Linked DNA regions of Homo sapiens: region 1 is linked to region 2. The links are contacts of gene promoters, found by promoter capture Hi-C in blood cells and fetal thymus (Javierre and others, 2016). All regions are on one chromosome and are shown on one strand. The core of a region is centred on a gene start or on the middle of the fragment in contact, and the rest is flanking DNA. Distances in the headings are between cores, read along the strand shown. Region 1 overlaps EEA1 (early endosome antigen 1). Region 2 holds the start of CEP290 (centrosomal protein 290).

Region 1 (5,446 bases), core at 78-2,577, 4.8 Mb before region 2:
GCCGCCCGAGCGGCCGTCGCCACCGCCTCGCCCCGACCTCCTTCCCGGTCCCCTCCCGGCCCAGTCCCTCCCGCCCGCGCACCCCGAGTAGTGAGTGGCCCCGCGCAGGGTCTGGAGAGTCACCGCGGCGGCGCCGGGTGGTGGTTAAACCATGTTAAGGAGGATTTTACAGAGGGTAAGAGAGTGAAACCGTCTTTCTGGCAGCACGTGAGCGGGACAGCCGGAGCTCGGGGCCGCGGCGCGGGCGCCCCTCCTCAGCGCGGGCTCCTTCCTTCCCTAGGCCCCACAGCCCGGCAGGCGCTTAGGCCTCGGTCGCCCGGCCCGGGGGCGGGGAGGGCGGGTGGGGCCGGCGCGGCGGGGCGGCAGGCAGAGCCCTGGTGGCCCCGCGCGTCCAGGCCTGGCGCCCGCTCCGGCGCGGGGCTCCGTGTGTGCGAGCGGGCTGCGAGCTGGAGGGTGTGGTGCCGGCGCGTTCCTCCCGGGAACCCTGAGTGGGAGTGAAAATGGAGAGTTGGTGCCCGTGGGACGGGCCAGCCGCCGCCTGCCGGGCTGGAGAACGCCCCATGGGAGATTCGGGCGGCTTGCTTCGCCTTTCCCCACCCGCCGCACTCCCCGTGCCCCCCAATTTGACACGATGCGCACCTGCCACACACGGCCCTGCTTTCTCCTTTGGACCACAGTGGAGGGTGGTGTGGTGAGCCCCGGCCTAGCCTGGGCCCAGGCGTGGGACTGACACTGGCACAGTCAGCCGAGAAGGAAGATGTTACTCACTGTTGGAAACTTTTTTTTTAATTAAAAATATGTTTTCTGTGCAAGCCCCACTACCTTATTTTAGCTATCCAAGAATAAATCCGCAGTAAGCTTGATCAAGTGGTATATACACTTAGTTTCTGCCTGTGCTGTCTCTGAAATCTGGAAAACCTTGAGGATAGAAAGATTAGAGCATTAGAAAACTGTAGGTGTATCATTTAAGAATCAGTTACTAGAATAACATAATTCACATCTCTTTTCCTGTAAGAGTTATTGTACCTGTCAACTTAAATTTGTTTTTTTTTTTTGGTATAGCTTTTTTCTTTTCTTTTTGAGGCTGATAGGGTGTAACAAAATGTAAATGATTGAAAAGTAGGTGCCGAGCCTATTAGTTCTTTACCGAGGGAGTAGGATAACTAGTTCAAAGGACAAAAGAAATTAGTGAATTTGTAGGATTCAGCCGAGGAATGTGCGGAAGAGAGTTGAGTCATCCAGTAGATAGGAAGGGAGTGCTCTTGCTTCTGCCTAGCTTTCTCCTGAAAGAATGAAGTCATGTGAAACTTGGTCAGTTATTAGAGGGAGAAATAGTTAACTTCTTTATCTGACAACCTGTGTTGACATTTAATTGTATTTTGCAGTGTTTTGTGAATTTTGAAATCCCGGTAAGCGATGATTTTGGCAGTAACAAGGGCATGTCCTTTACTTTCCCCATCACTTCCTTAGTTCAGCAGTAAAGACATCTGTGCATGATTTACTTTCAGGCTTTAGGAGATTTTTCTTTTATCAGACCTGGAGGAACTGATTACCTCATGTTTCAGATTGTGTTTCTGTCATAGTTCTGCAAGTGAAAATTAGTTTGCCTGTGGTTTGCTTTGAAGTTTACAAATAAAAGTGTTTACTGGTTTAAGGGTAGCTCAGCTGTAGTTATAGATTGGTTTTCAGAAATATGGGATGCTTTCTAGTAATCTTGGTTTAAAGTTAAACATCGAGATTATATGAAGATCATTTTTAATGTTGGTGCATACCTATCAACTGTTAAAGAAGCTTCTGTTGAAACTACAAAAGTGAAATTGATTGTGGTTATTGCAGAGATGTGATATTGAATCATCACTTCTGAATAAGTCAGTTGACAACTGAGTTTCTTAACGTCGGCGCTATTGGCATTTGTGACTGGATAATTCTGCGTTGTGGGAGGCTGCCCTGTGCCTTGTAAGATGTTAGCAGCATCCCTGGCATCTACCCCCACTAGATGCCAGTAGCATTCCCCTATATCCCTTCCCCCTTGTGACAACCAAAAATAGCTCCAGATTTTACCAAATGTCCCCTAGGGGCAAAATTGCCTCTGGTTGAGAATCACTGTGTTAAATGCATTAACTCTTTAGTAGGAAAGTTTGAAGTGTTTCTCACAGTTAAGTACTTAATTTTCTTTTATTCAGTGTATTTATATTGAGTTTCAGTAAATGCCAGGCTTCATGCTAAGGGGTAGGAAACAGTTGATTAAGCTGTGGGTCCTCCCTTTAGAACTCACAGGCTGTTTGGGAGGTGAACATTTAAAAGTAATGACAGTGCTATGTAATAGAATAATGAAGAGGACAGAGGACCCAGGAGGCACTCTGTGGGAGGTGAGGGCAATTAGGAAAAGCTTCAGGGACGGGGGCATATTCACAGCTCAGAAGAGGGAAGGGCATGTCAGGCAGAGGGAACAGCAAATGCAAAGAGATGGAGTCATAAAAGGCGCAGGTAGTACTGTGAGGAGTGTGAACAATGAAGCTTAGGAAGTGAGATGGTCTGTAGCAATTAGTAAGAGATGAAGCTACCGTGGTGGCTAGAGACCAAATTGTGAGAGGACGTAAGAGTCCCTTTGAAGGAGTTCAGCTTTTATCTTGTAGTTGGGTCAGTGTTAATGCTGAGTATTTAATAGGGACATTTTGATAAATGTCTTAAATCTGGTGATTTACTAGTTTAGAAGGTAGAATATATATTTTATTAACTCTACAAGTGGTATTTACCAACAAGTATAACTTGAATCTTTAAATTGTGTAACATGGCAACCTATTTTACCCCTCCCTGCTAATCTTATTTCTCAGCACAGATATTAAGCTATAAGATTAAAGCTATTGTTAATTTAGAGATTTATTTGAAATGGACTCTGTGCTTTGAAATTATGTGGCATTCCTTGGCTGGGTGCAGTGGCTCATTCCTGTAATCCCAGCACTTTGGGAGGCCGAGACGGGCGGATCACCTGAGGTCGGGAGTTCGAGACCAGCCTGACCAACATGGAGAAACCCTGACTCTACTAAAAATACAAAATTAGCCGGGAGTGGTGGTGCATGCCTATAATCCCAGCGACTCAGGAGGCTGAGGTAGGAGAATCACTTGAACCCGGGAGGTGGAGATTGCAGTGAGCTGAGATTGCTCCATTGCACTCCAGCCTGAGCAACAAGACCGGAACTCCGTCTAAAAAAAAAAAAAAAATTATGTGGCATTCCTTTAGCATTTTGTTTTTAGATGAACTTTTCATTTTAACTATTCTTATTTTCTTCTGAATAGTTTCCTTTAAATAGCATTTTTTAAAAGAAGAAACAGACAAACTGCTTACCATCAATTAGAACTCAAAGTGTTTGAACATCATCAATAAGTCTCAGGATACTTTACGGAAATTTGGTTTCTGGTTCTCCTGCTTTTGTCCCTCCTCCTGCTCCTCCTTTTTCATTAGCTTACTAAGGTGTTTCTCTGAGGCTTGAAAGAAGCTGGAAAACAAAAACAAAAAAACCTCAAAACAAAACCAAAGTGAAGTAGCTCCAATATGTATGTATTGAATATTTTACTTAATAGTCCTTCAAAGAAAAACATGAATTTAAAGTACTTGATGGTTAGAAATTTAATCAACGTTTAGTACCTTAGGCAGCTTGTAAACCTTGTTGCCATTTCTTTCTTAAGTATTATAACTTACTGTGGGCTGGCTTAGTGGCTCATGCCTGTAATTCCATCACTTTGGGAAGCCGAGGCGTGCAGATCACTGAGATCAGGAGTTCGAGACCAGCTTGGTCAATGTGGTGAAACCCCGTCACTACCAAAAAATACAAAAATTAGCCGGGCATCGTGGTGCACGCCTGTAGTCCCAACTACTTGGGAGACTGAGGTGGGAGAATTGCTTGAACCTGGGAGGCAGAGGTTGCAGTGAGCCAAGATCGTGCCACTGCACTCCAGCAACAGAGTGAGACCCTGTGTTAAAAACAAAACAAAACAAAACAAAAAAACTGTGATTAGTGTTTTTTTTTTTTTTTTTGAGACATCTTTTGTGGGCCAACTGTGTGCTGTGCAGACAATGATGGGTAAAGTAGTCATGAATTTTTTGTGGAGTTTAGCGTCCAGTGGAAGAGAGAGGAATTGTTCAGAGATTCATACAACTATACTCTTGAATGAGTTCTAGGAAGGACAAACTCAGGATGCCCCAAGAACACCCAGCAAGAGGGCCCTGGTTTTAGATGTTGGGAAGGCTTCCCAGATTAGTTGCCCATCTAAGTTTGATGAAAGTATTGCTAATTTATTGAAGTGAATTTTAAAAAGTGACAGCTAATGGAATGATTTTCTTTTTGAGTAGTTTTTTTTTTTTTTTTTTTTTTTTTTAGCATGTTAGGAATAAAGAAGAGATTAAGATATTAAAGAACCAGGACTAGAACTAAGAATAAAGAAGACGTTAAGAAATGAAAAGAACCAGGGCTAGTACTCAATTTTCTTCTCTAATTCCAGTGGCCTTTTGCTTGAGCTAAAGAAATAATGTAATTTAGTAGTTAAGAACATGAACTCTGATGCCAGACTACCTGGGTTTGTATCCTGTTTCATTTACTATCTGTGTAGTTTTGGAGAAGTTACTTCTCTGTGTCTCAGTAAAATAGTTGTAATAATACTAGCCTCCTTATAAAGTTGAGAACTAGATAACTAATATGTATAAAAGTCTCAGCCAGGCGCGGTGGCTCATGCCTGTAATCCCAGCACTTTGGGAGGCTGAGGTGGGTGGATCACCTGAGGTCAGGAGTTTGAGACCAGCCTGGCCAACATAGTGAAACCCCGTCTCTACTAAAAATAGAAAAAATTAGCTGGGCGTGGTGGCGGGCACCTGTAATCCCAGCTATTAGGGAAGCTGAGGCAGGGGAACTGCTTGAACCTGGGAGGCTGAGATTGCAGTGAGCCGAGATTGTGCCATTGCACTCTCCAGCCTGGGCAACAAGCAAAACTCCATCCCAAAAAAAAAAAAAAAAAAAAAAAGTCTTAAATGTTAGCTGCTGCTAATGTTGGTGTTTTGTTGTTGTTTTTGGTGTTTAACTTTCTTTTCTTATTTTTTTCTTTTTTGAAACAGGGTCTTGCTCTGTCAGCCAGGATGGAGTGCAGTGACACAGTGACACCGTCACGTTCACTGCAGCCCCTGCCTCCTGGGCTCAAGTGGCCCTCCTGCCTCAGCCTCAGGAATAGCTGGGATTATAGGTGTGAACTACCACACCTGGCTGATTTTTTTAAAATGGTGTTTCAGTGTTATTATAATTATAAACTCCAAATTTCTTTAAGGAACACTTTTCTTATCACTTCCTTTATTTTTCTAATCTCCATTTTTTTTTTTTTTTTTTGTAGATGAGGTAGATGAGGACTTAGAACATAGGTACATTCATTTTATGTACTACCGAATATTTATTTTGTGCTA
Region 2 (4,941 bases), core at 2,442-4,941:
ATCTCCACAGGTAGCTACTTTAGGACATTCATCTTATCTCACGTAAAGTGCTGATTTACCACCCCACGTGAATACATAATATCTATTTCCCTCTCTGCTCTTTTTCTCTTGCAACACATAGATTACCATATCTACCCTTTTTCTCTTCCAATGGATTTTTCCCCTTTAAATACTGAAGCCCTCAAAATCATCTTAGAGAAAGGAAGAGACTACAGACTGTTTCTGTGATTCAGTGTTTATTTCTTTTCGGCATGTCCCTAACCTTGGCAAAATAAACTTCTAAATTGATTGAGACCCGTCTTAGACACTTTTTGGTTCACAAAGACTTCTCATGAGCTACATTATAGATATACAAAACTAAATACAATCCCTTCAATAAAACTGTAAATTGTATTAAGGCAAATTGTTTTGCCTTAATTTCATGGACAAGAATGAGTGTGCAGCAAGCAGATACTTGTCTTCCTTCAACATGAGGAAACTGGAAAGATCAGTAGGGAGTCAGTGTGAATTAAGCCATTAACCATGGCTTAATTTGCCATGAAGATAAGGCAAAACAAAATGTTTAGGACACACAATGGATACAAAATGGCCATGCTTTGTTTTAGAGATCGGAGAAGTAAGCTACTATGACTTTTCTTGGTAAGTCAGCAAAAAGGAACTAGAAGTAACATCCAAGGAATATAAATTCATTGCTACAGAGAACAAAGGTAAGCAATAATAAAAGGTGAGGCCTTCTTGTGAAGTGATTTTGGTCAGATAAAACTGTTCACAAAAGCCTAGGGCAGAAAGAAGGCAGGTCCAGACAAGTGTTCTTATAACAAGGCCACTTACAACATTGTCACATAAGTCCCATTTCTTGATGAAAACTGACAGGTGCAGAAAATCTGACGAAAAATAATAGTTTTGCCAATTTTCCTCAAAAATATACAGTGAGTTATTGAACTAGAACCTGAGTTAAATTTCCTGACTCACACTTAGGTACAGACGACAATGCATAAAAACTTAGTTGACTTGTTCAAGCCAGAGCTGACTTGTTCACTGCTGTATCCCCAGTGCCTAGCACAGGAAACAGGATAAAAAATACTGTTAGAATGAGTTAAAGAATAAAATTTAGGTAAGATTTTGCTTTTAGTTACAATTGTCACTGAGATCTAGGTTACAATCTTAGCTTCATCAATTATTACTTAACTTCTATGAACTTGTTCTCACTTCTGAAAAATTAGAATAAAATTTACCATTAGAGACCAGGCACCTTGAGTTTATGAATGTGAGCAAGAGGGTGGTGGCAGAAGGGTAGAAAAGAGTAATACAGACAAACGAAACTTGTAAGTGAATACATAAAAATAAGTTATAACGAATGAAAAAAAAAACAGAAGAAAAGGTGTTAGAGAAAACAGACTTCTATTATGAAAACAAACACGCAGTAGTCAGCATAGTGTATGACATAACATGTGCTCAGTAACTATTAAATTTCATTCCTACCATTGTCAGAGGTATTTGAATCACAACAACTCCATCTTGAATAGGGGCTGGGTAAAATAAGGGTGAGACCTACTGGGCTGCATTCTCAGGATGTCTGTCAGTCATTCTAAGTCACAGGATGAGATAGGAGGTGGGCACAAGATACTGATCATAAAGACTTTGCTGATAAAACAGCATGCAGTAAAGAAGCCAGCCAAATCCCACCAAATCCAAGATGGCGAGAAAGGTGGGACGTCTGCTCGTTCTCACTGCTCATTATACACTAATTATAATGCATTAGCATCCTAAAAGACACTCCCACCAGTGCTATGACAGTTTACAGATGCCATGGCAATGTGAAGAAGTTACTCTATATAGTCTAAAAAGGGGAGGAACACTCAGATCTAGGAATGGCCTACCCTCTTCCCAGAAAACTCATGAATAACCCACCCCTTGTTTAGCATATAATCAAGAAATAACTATAACAATCCTTAGTCTACCACCTCCAATGGGGGTGTATGCACCTCCAATTCTTTCTTGGCGAGATCCAGGAGCCCTCTCCTGGGGTCCAGATCAGAACACCTTTCCAGAAACACCATCCCATGTTAAATTATGAATTAAGAACACTGAACATGAAGAATGTTTAATTCAAATTATTGAGTAAACACTTACAAAATTAAAATATAACATTTAATAAAAATAGCAAGATTGAGGAACAAGCACTTCACAAATATTGGTTTCCCAGAATGTCTGAGGAGGTGTATAGAAGTTAAGAATATGTCCTCCAGCCAGAGAGATCTGTGTTCAATCACACTATTTAAGTTACTTAGCTTCTCCAAGCCTCAGTTTCTTAACTCAGATGGAAAATGAGGACAATGTAAGCACCTATTTCACTGGATTGTAAGGAAGAATAAACAAGATAATGAATAGTATTTGGCATATAATCTTTCAGAAAAGTAGTAAAATTGTCATTCCTATAAATCTAACTAATGTCTTTAAAATTCATCTCACAAAATCAGTATCTTTTTATTTTGTACTGAGCTACTTATTTTACCCAAATTGGGGGTTTAAAAAGAAACTCATTACTTATTTTCGAAAGGAAAATTTACTGTCAAGTACAGTAATTTTTTTTTTAAAGCAGCGTTTAAAAAAAAAAAAAGACAAAGCACTGGTCCAGATAGTTGGAAATGTCATTTAGATTTAAGTCTACAGCTTCTTAGGAAAGTTAGGTAGAGATGTATCATACTCCAGCATGATTGTGAGCAGACGAGCAGGATGAGCAAAACTTGCACGAGTAAGAGTGGTAAACACCAGAGAAGGCGCTTTCATGGAAGGGCACCCTAGGTAACCAAGCAAGTGGCAACAATAGTACAGGTGAGTCCTTGGATCCCTTCTCTCTCCACCCCCGGCAGTGGTCCGGACAAGTACTAACCTCTCCTCTCTAGAGCCTTGACTTTATACTAGCTCCACAACCATCAAGCCCCACGATCCGCGAAAGGAATGGTGCTACAGGTAAGGCGGGCGGGGTCGGGATGCCGAGACCTCTTGTCAATTCTTCGCTCGCCCCCAAACGAGGATCACGGCTGCGCGGCTCTCACTCTAACTATCAAGACAGATTCTGATACTAAACAAGGCTAAAACTTTTTGTTTTTTCCTTCTTACAGAAGGCACTACCCTGGACGCCGCTTGCAAACGCCTGAAGAGAAGGCAGGGTGTTCCCACTTTTTCAGAATGGGACCAGGCCCTACGGCCCCAATAGCAGAAGCTTCTCTAACCCAGGACTGCTCCCCTCAATTCCTCCCAATATGCTGACCGACAGCTCGACCTCACCTGGGGGCGGTTCCGCCAGGGGATGGCTTAGGAAAACCTCAGGAAGAGCAGCCCAGCGAGTGACGCCACTGAAACCACAGTCATGGTCTACCTCGTTCAGGCCACCAGTTTGCAGGCGCCTGAGCCGCTGCTCCTCCCGCCTCTCGGTCCTTCCCCGCCGCCCCGGTACCGTCGCAGTCTTACGCGTTGCATGCCGGGAGCGCCTTACCTCCTCTTCTCAGGGACTTCAGTTCCCAGCATGCAGAAGCCTCAGGCAGAACTGCACTCTGGGATTTGAAGTCCTCGTTCCACGCCTTCTCATCATCCTGAACACCGAGCTCTGGGACTCCGGCGGAGAATCTAAACGTAAAGCATCACCCACGGTCGTGAACTGTAGGCTCTCCTGGCATCCGGGATCTTATTCTGGCCTTGGCGGAGTTGGGGATGGTGTCGCCTAGCAGCCGCTGCCGCTTTGGCTTGCTCGGGACCATTTGGCTGGACCCAGAGTCCGCGTGGAACCGCGATAGGGATCTGTCAGGGCCCGCGGCCGGGTCCAGCTTGGTGGTTGCGGTAGTGAGAGGCCTCCGCTGGTTGCCAGGCTTGGTCTAGGTGGGTGGATCCTTGTAAGCAGGATTAGCGAGTCACTCCACGCTCAGGTTCTTTAGCCTGAGGGCCCGTGTGCCACAGCATAGCTACCCCGCCCTTCCAGCCTCGGGTCCCTAATACTGCCTTGCTTCGGTTCCAGTTTCCGCCGCACAACTTCACTCATTCCAAATGTTAATTTCTGCGTTTTTTTTCAGCCCCAATTCTGTTTCTCCAAATCAGGGATGATTGTCGGCCTTCCACAGACCCTCGCGCTTGCCAGGATTAGGGTGTTCGCGCGCATTGTGGGTAGGGGTGTGGAGGAAGGGATCCAGAAATCTTAAGTATTAACTTAGATTAGTGTTAGCAAGGAAGCCGTCACATTTTATTTAGCCGGGACACTCTGACAGTTTGTGCCGACTGCTATTTTTGATCAAGGCTATTTTGCCCACTTGTCTATTTTGTGGCCCAATTGTCTGTTTTGCTAACATCAGAAAGTTATAATGAAATAATCTGCAAAAAATGTAAGGTGCTAGAAAACCAATAATACTGTGTACCTTGAAAATGCTAATATACACCTGTTTTGTTACAGAGGTGGAGCACAGTGAAAGAATTCAAGATGCCACCTAATATAAACTGGAAAGAAATAATGAAAGTTGACCCAGATGACCTGCCCCGTCAAGAAGAACTGGCAGATAATTTATTGATTTCCTTATCCAAGGTGCTTAATTGGTCAATAATAATAGATATATACATTAACTTATGATTAATTTATTAATAAAATATGAATTTATTTTTTTCAGGGACAACTATAATTGTCACAATCTGGAAGTGTTCTTATATTTTGCTTGAAGGTTATAAAATATAAAACAGTTGCTTTTCTGTTTACTTAGGTGGAAGTAAATGAGCTAAAAAGTGAAAAGCAAGAAAATGTGATACACCTTTTCAGAATTACTCAGTCACTAATGAAGGTTTGTATGTAGTAGGTTTTAACTATAGGTTTGGCTATTAGTGGAACTATAAAAATCTGTTCTTATATAAGGTAATCTTTGTGAAAATACCTGGTAATATCTACATCACCACTAAAAA

Evidence for each region. Contacts are between HindIII fragments. The CHiCAGO score rates a contact against its expected background, and 5 or more counts as called.
Region 1: a fragment that was not itself captured here is called in contact with the fragment with the promoter of CEP290 in region 2 in 1 of 17 cell types (total CD4 T cells); the score reaches 6.2 in total CD4 T cells.

The regions. Positions count from the first base shown.
Region 1 is chr12:92,923,772-92,929,217 of GRCh38, reverse strand. It overlaps EEA1 (early endosome antigen 1), which reads left to right. Exons shown (of 29, transcript NM_003566.4): 1 at 1-175. The coding sequence starts at 152. Among named protein-coding and RNA genes, the nearest start is that of EEA1, 2.8 kb to the left of the region's middle. RefSeq lists a silencer at 1-533 and an enhancer at 1,634-1,763. The HindIII fragment of the contact is 933 bases long and covers 861-1,793 here.
Region 2 is chr12:88,140,838-88,145,778 of GRCh38, reverse strand. CEP290 (centrosomal protein 290) reads left to right here and starts at 3,691. Exons shown (of 54, transcript NM_025114.4): 1 at 3,691-3,879; 2 at 4,445-4,573; 3 at 4,746-4,823. The coding sequence starts at 4,472. It overlaps TMTC3 (transmembrane O-mannosyltransferase targeting cadherins 3), which reads right to left and starts at 3,472. Exons shown (of 14, transcript NM_181783.4): 1 at 3,292-3,472. RefSeq lists enhancers at 3,102-3,605, 3,412-3,851. The HindIII fragment of the contact is 8,380 bases long and covers 3,229-4,941 here.